Regions from separate parts of the Homo sapiens genome. Here regions 1 and 2 are each linked to region 3. The links are contacts of gene promoters, found by promoter capture Hi-C in blood cells and fetal thymus (Javierre and others, 2016). All regions are on one chromosome and are shown on one strand. Each heading gives the region's core, a stretch centred on a gene start or on the middle of the fragment in contact. The rest is flanking DNA. Distances are from core to core; before and after follow the strand shown.

The links. The method cuts DNA at HindIII sites, captures the fragments that hold promoters and counts their contacts. A CHiCAGO score of 5 or more calls a contact.
Region 1: a fragment that was not itself captured here is called in contact with the fragment with the promoter of RHAG in region 3 in 1 of 17 cell types (erythroblasts); the score reaches 5.5 in erythroblasts.
Region 2: a fragment that was not itself captured here is called in contact with the fragment with the promoter of RHAG in region 3 in 2 of 17 cell types (erythroblasts and megakaryocytes); the score reaches 33.4 in erythroblasts.

What each region holds. Positions count from the first base shown.
Region 1 is chr6:49,717,218-49,720,875 of GRCh38, reverse strand. No RefSeq gene overlaps it. Among named protein-coding and RNA genes, the nearest start is that of CRISP2, 5.5 kb to the right of the region's middle. RefSeq lists a silencer at 614-814. The HindIII fragment of the contact is 318 bases long and covers 2,233-2,550 here.
Region 2 is chr6:49,735,380-49,738,808 of GRCh38, reverse strand. CRISP3 (cysteine rich secretory protein 3) reads left to right here. Exons shown (of 8, transcript NM_006061.4): 2 at 1,411-1,484; 3 at 2,302-2,418; 4 at 3,218-3,305. Among named protein-coding and RNA genes, the nearest start is that of CRISP3, 7.3 kb to the left of the region's middle. The HindIII fragment of the contact is 2,761 bases long and covers 399-3,159 here.
Region 3 is chr6:49,634,836-49,638,211 of GRCh38, reverse strand. RHAG (Rh associated glycoprotein) reads left to right here and starts at 1,373. Exons shown (of 10, transcript NM_000324.3): 1 at 1,373-1,556. The coding sequence starts at 1,400. The HindIII fragment of the contact is 2,886 bases long and covers 1-2,417 here.

The DNA.
Region 1 (3,658 bases), core at 1,142-3,641, 82 kb before region 3:
TTATTTAGTTCATGTGACTTAAGTAATCTTTGGGAAATAAAGATAGTTTTAAACATTATTGGTAAAATAAAAATATCTTCAAAATGTAAACATTTGGTCTAAATTATACAGGTTAGATATTAGGTTTGCTTTAAGGTCATAAACTGCTTCTTCAACTTTCAAAAATTGTTCAATTTATTTTGGAGCATTAGATTCTATATAAAGCCTGGGGACATGCAGTTGGGCGCAGGGGCTCACGCCTGTAATCCCAGAATTTTGGGAGGCTGAGGCAGGTGGATCATGATGTCAGGAGGATCATGACGTCAGGAGATCAAGACCATTCTGGCTAACACGATGAAACCCCATCTCTAATAAAAATACAAAAAATCAGCTGGCCATAGTGGCATGTGCTTGTACTCCCTCTACTCAGGAGGCTGAGGCAGGAGAATTGCTTGAACCCGGGAGATGGAGGTTCTAGTGAGCCGAGATCGCACCACTGTACCCCCCTCTGGGTGACAGAGAGAGACTCCATCTCAAAAAAAAAAACAAAAAAACAAAAAGCCTGGGCACATGTTAAATTAGCCATGTGCCCTATCTATGTAAACAAGGTTATAAAGAAAAGAGATTTTATATAAGAAAATATCTTGTATGGTAAATTCTTGTCTAAAGTAAAATAACTGGTTGTTTAAAAAGAGGGATGTTTAGGACAAGTCAGAAAGCCCAAGCACTTCGTAGATGGTCTGGTTAAGTCATGAAAGAATTTATAAAATAGAATTTATGAAAGAAATGTGCAATTTAAAGGTGGCTAGTCCTCTTAAATGCTTCATAAAATGCCACTATGACTCTTAACTGTACAACTTGCCTACTTTACAGCTAGGTAAAGCCTGAGACATGTGGAGTTAGACATTGGAAAAAGTCAGACCTTATCTGCACTTCTATCTGGATCCTAGGCTCTACATTTAGTAAACAATTAAAATCCTAACTTACCAAGGTTTTCACCATAAGTAAACGTTGATAAGAGTTAACATTATAACATGTAATTGAGACTACTGAAGAAAAAGTTTTACATGAAAGGTGTACAAAGAAAGTAAAATGTGTTTTCAGTTTAAAATAAATTATAAGAAGTCATGGGAATGTGACTTGTTTTTTGCCTAAAGGGTAAAGGATTGTTTGAGTTCAGATGAAGCTGAAGCTTTAAGCAAGTTGTGAAAGGTTTGTGAAAAATTAATTGTAAAAGAAATTCTGGGTGTGAACATATTGACTAAAGTTAAAGCAGTATTATTTCAGTTTTTCTAAAAATTAAACATTGGAATAAAAGCACAACAGGTTTTTCTGAGAGCACTGATCTACCATTTAACAAAAATTTATAAAGAGTTATAAAAGATTTAAGAGAATATTACCTTATGGTCAGACATTAAAATTGGATAGATTTGTCTATAAGGTTTTATTAAAAATTGGATTTAACATTAATAGTACACTAATGCAGAAGTGAAATTTGGTTTATTTGATATAAAAGTCATACAGGAAGCATTGTCAAATATGAAATGGTGTTTGGCCTTCTTTGGGCTGTATTTGTATTAGTATATTACTGGTATGTGTTCCAAAATTATAAAAATCTCCTATAATTTTGATATGACTTAGTGTATATTATTAATAATTGTTACATAAAATCATTGTATACCACAAAGGTAACCTAATTTCTTTGTCAATCATGTTTTTGACTGTGGCTGCCCTAAAACATTTTGTCATCCACAGACAATTATTGCCTTGTTTTAACCCTCTTAAAAAGGTGGTTTTATGATCAACTATAGGACTTTCACAGGTGCTAAATGCAGGTTTCCTGATATCTTTGGAAATTGTGACATTAGAATAGAGGAAAACACTTTCAGGATTCTGATGAAGAGCTGAAATATTTATGACTATTTTTCAGAACAGGAGTTAACTGCATGGACTAAACTAAAAAAATAATCTTTTTGACTGTGCTTAAAATGTTGCTAATCCTTTGTTTTGTTTTTCAGGGTCTAGAAAATTTTATTTTAAGCTATTTACAGCTTTTAACAATTAGGTAAAGTATTCTTCTATAAACAAAATCAGGAGCACATTTGTTTCTCTCTACTGATTTATCCAGAATTTGAAAATGGTTTGTGGGTATTCTTAATTTATGGCAATGTAGTTATTTGCATAAGTGCAATAAGAATCGGTTTTCTTTTGCAACAGGACACAATTGGAGAAATTGTTTATTTTATCAAAGCTTTGACTGGAAGGCTGTGCTTTCCTTTAAGGAATCAAACTTGACTAGTAAAGCCAATAAAGGCCCCTTCAGAAAACTGGCCTCATACCTTGTCTACACAGTCCCTCTACAGGGTTCTTCACCTTTGGTAAGTAAAGAATGTCACTTTCTGACAGACCTAAAAGCCCCAAATTGTCCTGAAACCTCAAGAGTAGAGGAATTTAGCCAACTGTTAGGTATTTGAGGGTAAAAAACCCATGGCTGGGCTTGGCTTTAAAAAAACCTTATCTGAGATTCCTTTTATGAAACAGAGTTCCATCAAAGCCAATTTTTAAAAAGCTTACATGAAAAATAATTATTCTTGCTATACTTTATACAAAGAATCCAGCCAAGCATAGTAAAGCAAGTCAGTTTTACCATTATTTGTCCTTTGTAAAAATGGGAAACTGGAGAGAGAATTATGTTTCAAGAACTATGGTGTACTTGCTCTTAGATTCTAGTCTCATCAGTTGTTTTGAGTTTTTTTCTGCAATTTAGACTAACCCTGCTTATTCCTGTGAACCAACCAGCAATCTCTGGCTGCTGCTCAGAAGAAAATAAAGGAATGGGTAATGTAAAAATATGAATCAATATTCCAATTCTGGGCACACTGGAATCAGCTAGTGACCCCATATCAGCTTGGTTTCAATAGTTGCCCAATTCATGGAAAGCCTTCTAATTTAGTTAACTTAGGACAATTTTGCTTATTCTGCTTTACTGTTTTAAAATATCTTGCTGTTGTGCTCTTTGTGTAGGAATAGAGGATAAACTTACTCAACTTTTTAAAAAAATCTTCCAGATATCACCTTTTCTTGGAACTTAAGAGTTATGAATGGCCTTCATCATACTAATGCATTCTGACTGAACTCCTCTGTACCCTGAACACAAGAGACCCTAATAGTTACACAGAAATATCATTGCCCCATTCAGCCTGAAGAAGTTAAAGAAGATGAATCTTCATCCTTCTGCAACTGTTAGGATTAAGGGTTCTTTTATAAAAGGGAGAGGAGAAATGTCAGAGGAATGTGAACCGGAGCAACTCCATCTTAAATAGGGGCTGGGTAAAATGAGGCTGAGACCTACTGGGCTGCATTCCCAGACAGTTAAGGCATTCTAAGTAAAAGGATAAGATAGGAGTTTGGCACAAAATACAGGTCATAAAGACCTTTCTTGTAAAACAGTTTGCAGTAAACAAGTCAGCTAAAACCTACCAAAACCAAGATGGCAACAAGAGTGACTGCTGGTCGTCCTCACTGCTACACTTCCACAAGGGTTGTGACAGTTTACAAATGCCATGGCAATGTCACGAAGTTACCCTATATGGTCTACAAAGGGGAGACATGAAAAATCCACCCTTTGTTTCGTATATAATCAGAATAACCATAAAAATTGGCAACCAGCAGCCCTTGG
Region 2 (3,429 bases), core at 530-3,029, 100 kb before region 3:
ACATTGACTTTAATAGCATGAAAATGGGTTTTGCAAGTGTATATCAGGCTGCATCCCAATACTTAGATTCACAGTGGGCGGGGTGGTGGGGTGCAGAGGTGCTGGTTAGGAGAAGGAAAGCTGAATTTAGTGCTGGGAACCAGTCTGGGGTGGAAAGCTCTTCCTCTGGGAGTTCTGTGGGGATTTGGTGTTAGCTAAGTTCATAGTCTAAGGGAGACCCAGTCCCAGCCCCCAGAGCTGAGGTTCAGGAGGAACCAGTGAATAACTAAGAAGGAAGAGCTTTTGTAGGATGAGTCACTACTTCTATTAACGTTCAGTCCAAATCAGAAGGCTAAGGATCTACCATATACTATTTGTTCTGCTTTCTTGTTTTTAAACTTAACACTGAAGCATAAGCTTCTTCTCTGAGGTTACAAAACAACCATAAATGTATAGTGGTTTTTATGTCTAATATACTGCCATAAGAGGATGTATTCTCATTTACTTAGACATTATATCTCCCTATTGCTAGGCATGTAATTAATTTACAATGTTTTAACCCTTATAAATGATAACATGATGAAAATTTTATGCTTAAAACTTTTTAGTATAGTTTATAATTTCAGTAGAATTCTAAGAAGTTGAATTAGTGAGATAAAGAATGTGAACATATTAAGGATATTAATACAGATAGGGTGAGTAATCCCTTAAACATGAGAATCAAATTATTACCTTTTTGTTTTAAGATCCAGAGGAAAAAAATGTTGCCTTTTTAAATTTGAGGCATGGTATTAAAGAAAGTTTTGAGAGGAAAGGAGTTAGGATGCTGGCTGCATGGGTAAACTTGAAGAGAGTAGTTTAAAGGTATGCATAAAAAGCATATACGTAGAGGACTTTCTAGGGTTTGAAGAATGGCAAGTATATGAGCCAGATCCCTGACGGAAAAGAACTGGCACATGCTAACTTTTAATTTGAAGAAATGTTAATAAGGTTATATTTATAAAAGTGTAGACAGCACTTAAGGAAATCAGCAAGGGCTAATGCAGTAGTATCCCAGTAATAAACACAGTTGGAAGCTACTGAATTGTTATTGTGAAGAATCCACTCCTACAACCTAAAGACAGTAGTTACACAGAGAAGACTGCGGAGCTGCGGAAGAAGGAGGTAGAAAGTCCTTAGCATTTATAGGCATGCTTCAAGGGCTTCAGTCGGGAATTTTGGTTTGTTCTTTATAGTCCCAGTTGAATGCATACTTTGAAAGCTGAATCCACTGTCATTCTGCTGGCTCCATGTGACAAGTCTTCTCCTGTTACATTAATAATGAATTTGGGATAATGGAGGTCATTACGTTTCTCCCACCCCCATGTTACTCAACAGCATGTACCAATCATTTTAATGCAGATCCCTGTTCCACCGGTTTTGTTTTCCCAGCAATGACATTATTCCCAGTGCTGTTGTTCCTGGTTGCTGGGCTGCTTCCATCTTTTCCAGCAAATGAAGATAAGGTATGGTTGAAGTCAAAAATCTTCAGAAAAATTCAGGCAACCATGAGGGATGGCAAGCTACTAGATCAATCTTCAAAAGTGAAAAGGTCTAGAGTGTCTGGTACATCATAAAGTACTCATTAGTAGCTCAAGGTAGTTAACATAATTATGTTTAAAGCTGTGGTGATCAATATGGTAGCCCCTAGCCACATGAGGGTATTGAAGTTCATTAATTAAATGACTTTGCTCCACCCCGCAAATTGCCTTGGAGATTTTTTTTAATGTGGTAAAACTATCTTTTGAGTGATCCCATAATATTTGCTACGTAATACATAAAACTCTTTTACTAGAGTATTGCATGTTACACATGCACTTAGGCTGAGCCTAAGCATTTTTTCTAAATACCAGACACCATTTCAGGCAGAAATTCCCCCTAGAGTCTTAGGGTAAATCATATGCCTCAATCTTTACAACTTCTTTGCTGCAGCCTGAGTGTGAATGTCTTAATAATTACTATCATGTACCCTTGTCACTATAAGATGTTATCACTCATATATTTAGAAAAATCACATTAAGACCTCTCTTAACCCAGAAATTGGTATTTGTGGCCTCAGAGGAGATTTTAGTTTGTCATGCCATGAATTATATCCCCATTCTGAAAACTTTCATCTAATACTTTTCCATTAAAAAGTCATAGCTTTGGCAGTCATTGACAATGTTTACCTAGCATTGGCAACACTTTTTAAAAATGGTCTTTGTTCCCTTGAACTAACATAGTTACTATTATGTGCAATTTCCAACAATGTTAAAAGATAATTGTAATTTTATTTTCCCTTAGGATCCCGCTTTTACTGCTTTGTTAACCACCCAAACACAAGTGCAAAGGGAGATTGTGAATAAGCACAATGAACTGAGGAGAGCAGTATCTCCCCCTGCCAGAAACATGCTGAAGATGGTAAGAGGTGATATTGCAAAGGAGAGGGGTGTGAACAAGCTGTGGAAGGAGTAGGCGGCTGGCAACTAATATCTCTTAATAACTTTGAAGTTTACAAAGTTCTCTCTGTATTTTTTTGTTTCATTTGAGCTGTGTAATGGGCAGAGCTGAATTTCTTAACTTCTCTTTATAATGGTTGCATAACGTCAAATTCATAGGGCTATTTAAATTATGGAGGCAGAATTAAAACCTAATCTTTGGACATACGGTGAAAAGCCATTATGTTTTTCTGCTCCTTATCTTATCTGTCCTAATCTGAGATCAGAAAGACCTTTTCCTTTTAAGATAAATGCCATGTAGGGTAAATAACAATCTACTTTTCTGGGCCCTGTACCAAAGGCCACATGTCTCCCGAACATATTCAGTGAGGGGGAAAAAAAGAAAAAAAGAACTGGAAATGAAGTAAGCCAGCTAATTACTTCATTGTTGGAAAAGCAATCTCAGCACCTCCACATGTTTATCAATATTTAGAACAGGACCATTACAAAAAATCTTTAGGTGTTTCTGATGTCCTGTGATAAATAATTGGACCATAAACCTAGATTTTTTGATTACTTAGGGTAGGCATATTACCTATATTTCTTTGTGGAGCAGATAAAAGCACATAAAAAATATATACATTTGATTACTATAAAAATCAGAAGATGCTTGTACAGAAATTTTATGATGATGTAAATCAACCTATAACCTGATTATAAAGCTTATGCTCCTTTGAGGTTTGAGACATTAAGTGGATATCTTTTTTCTGTCCTTGTTTCAGGAATGGAACAAAGAGGCTGCAGCAAATGCCCAAAAGTGGGCAAACCAGTGCAATTACAGACACAGTAACCCAAAGGATCGAATGACAAGTATGTAAATTAGGAAATATTTGTTGAATAAATCAACAAGTAAAATAATAAACCATGTTATGATGTTGCATTAAGAAAAGTTTGTAAATAAATATTGCTTCTAATGCTACCTTTTTCAATATGG
Region 3 (3,376 bases), core at 124-2,623:
TTTCATAGCTAAGCATGTGAACCCACTCCTCTTGTACTATGCTGTAACGAATAATGGAAATAGTCATTTTTCAAAGTGTCTGTATATTTATAAAATTTCAAATATCACTTAGTCCTAACATATCATGTTCTACTGTGGAAAATCATACCAGAAAGACCAAAAAATCCTGCTGCTTTGTTTTATAAATATTTATTACAATGTATGTATCCTGGCAGTCAGTTGCACTCTCTCTCCAAATTCTGCATAGAATCTTTTGGAAATTGGGCTTCATGAAAGAAATTGTATTTAACTGGTAGCTCTTAGTTCTCAAAAACAGGTTTATTCTGCCATGAGAACAATTCCAAAGAGGAGACAAGAATTCCTCCACCTATATGGTAGTTTTGAATTGCTTAGCATCTTATTTACACTTGACTATCTATAAGGATGATAGATTAGTTATGTTCCTGTTTAAGTTTACTCTCTTCCTATTTAAGACTAAAAGATATATCACAACTCATTTGTGTATTTCCATATTTTCACTTGCGTAAATCAGAGTAAGGAGTCAAAAACTTCATAAGTACATAAAACTGCTTACAGTCCTATATATTCCCCATTGCTCATGGGATAATATTTAGCATCTAGCATCCTCGGTACTGAATGTGAGGGTCTTTACAACACAGCCACCTCCATGACAACATTATCTCTGCCACTTCCTCCTTTTCTCTTCATCTCTTTTACATTCCAGCTTTGCTTGACTGATTGCCGTTTCCAAAACATGCCATGTTCTTCCAAGATTTATATCATTCCCTCTTATCTGTTTTACTTGAAAAACCCTATTTATGTTCTAGTTCTCACATCCATATTGTTTTATATGCTAATGTTCTTGGCCTAAGGCAAAAAGTTTCACTGCCTTATTTATGTTTTATAATACTTTTATAACCACTATTATATCACATATTTGTTTTTATATAATCATTCACTTATATTTATGTTTTCCCAACTAGATTCTTAATTTTCTCAAGAAGTTAACAGACCAATTATATATATTGCTTTAGATTCATGCCTTCTACAAAGCCTACCACAATATTTGGTATACAATAAGCCCTCAAGAAATGTCTACTGAATTAAGTTAAACATGATTCTAGAGGCCTGTGCAATAGATTGTTGGCATCATCCAGGTTCTCACAATTTCATTGCATATTCTTCAGATCAACATTTAGAACGACAATTAGATTACAGAGCATAATTTTCCCCAATGGGTGGGGCATTTTAATCAGTCTTGCCCATTTTTTTTTTCTTGTGATGTCATTGGGGTGCCTTGAACATGCAGTCAAATTCCACACACAGAGCAGTCCTTTGTTCTTATCAACATCTCACAGCCTGTGAAGCTCTCAGTGTGCCTCTGTCCTTTGCCACAAACATGAGGTTCACATTCCCTCTCATGGCTATAGTCCTGGAAATTGCCATGATTGTTTTATTTGGATTATTTGTTGAGTATGAAACGGACCAGACTGTTCTCGAGCAGCTCAACATCACCAAGCCAACAGACATGGGCATATTCTTTGAGTTATATCCTCGTGAGTAGGCAATTTACTACTTACTATACATTTTTCGGTTCTTCGGTTTCTCAGAATGTAAAACAATTGAATACTATAAACCCTTGAGCTCTTTGTAGAATTATATGATGGTTATGAGTGCTAAGGATATTACATGTTTGTGATGTGACATCTGGTCTTCTTCTCTGTGATTAAGGTGCTTGGTTGGAACTTTTTCCTATTAAAATATCAGAACAAGAAGCTGAAAATTAAAATAATTGATGCCTTTTGTATTGCTTATCTACTGCTAAATGACCTTTTTCCTTCAGTTGGTCACTAGTTCTGCAAAGAAAAGTATCACGCTTCCTTTGCATTCCCCACTGAAAGGGCCAAAGGTAACTTTGGAGGAGAGAGAGTTCTAAGAATGGAGTTATAAGAAGGGAACCCTAGATTTCATGTGAGGACCCTAAGGAATAAGAAGGGGTATTTAGTATGATGTAGGAAGTTAATGGAGTTTTAATCAAAAAAGTGTACTCAGAGTTTTACAATATTCTGAAAGGAAGTCGGTTTGTTACTTTGAGATGAAAAGAAATGTGTGAATACTTAACATATTTTAAAAACAAAATCCTTCCTTGGGAATGATGATTGAGCAAAGAGAGAAATTTAATTCAAGTTTGGAAGGGTAGGCTGTAAAATAGTTAATATAACAATAACTACCATTTACTGCGTCCTTATTATAAACCAACACATCCATTACCTCATTAGCCAGGAAGGAAGACAGTAGTATGTCACTATTATATAGACTATTTGCTTTTCTTAAGTAAGGTTCAAATAATCTAAAAAATTTAAAAATTATTTAAAATGGTATAATGTTTATTATACTTCATAGCATATGTCTAAGCTTTTTAAAAAACAATTTGACACCCTTTTTTTTATTCCAACATTTTTTGAGGGAATTAATATGATGGGGGTATTCCCATGTAGAAATAATGGCCTAGAGTTGCTAAGTGACATAGGAAAAATATAAAATTGAAAGCTAAGGACAGAGTTAGGGTAATAAGACAGAGAAAACTAGACTCCAAGTCTAGCTGTCTTTACACTGCATAGATGTCTGAGAGGGTTCTTGATTAAATAAGTTTTATAGTTTGCAAGTTAGAGAATAAAACAGAAAAAATTCTGTTCATCTATGTATGCTTTTGTACATTTCATTCATTCATCCATTTATTCATTTAGTACATATTTTATTAAGCACTAAGCATGTGCTACAGCAAATTTATTAAAAAATAAAACAAATATGATTCTTTTATTCTAAGACTCCACTATCTGATACACTTGTAAACAAAGAGATGCAATACAATGTTAAAAATGCCAAAAATATGATCTAAGATTAATATGATTTAAATAAAGTTATCTTAAGACTTTAAGAGCTTAATAATTGTATCATTCAAGCTGAACTTTCTAAGTCCCAGCATCAAAGCTTCTAGGTAAAATTTCAATTCACAATTTGAGATCAACACCAGGTTGAAGGAAAGTCACTAAACATGGTCATTTTTCAGTAGCCTAGCTATAGATGTATAATTTTTGGACATCTAGTGTGCAACATAATGATGATAGTTAACAATACCGTATGGATATTTGTAATTTGCTGAGTGGATATTGCTTCAATTTAATCTGATCACCCCTCGCCCCACCCCCCCGACACACACAGGTATACACAAACACACACACACACACACACACAGGTGTACACACACAATAATAACAATGTAGAGGTAATGAATGTGTTAACTAGCTTGATTGTAGTGATCATTTCACAAAGTATATGCATATCAAAATGTCAAGTTGTATACCTCAAATGTATA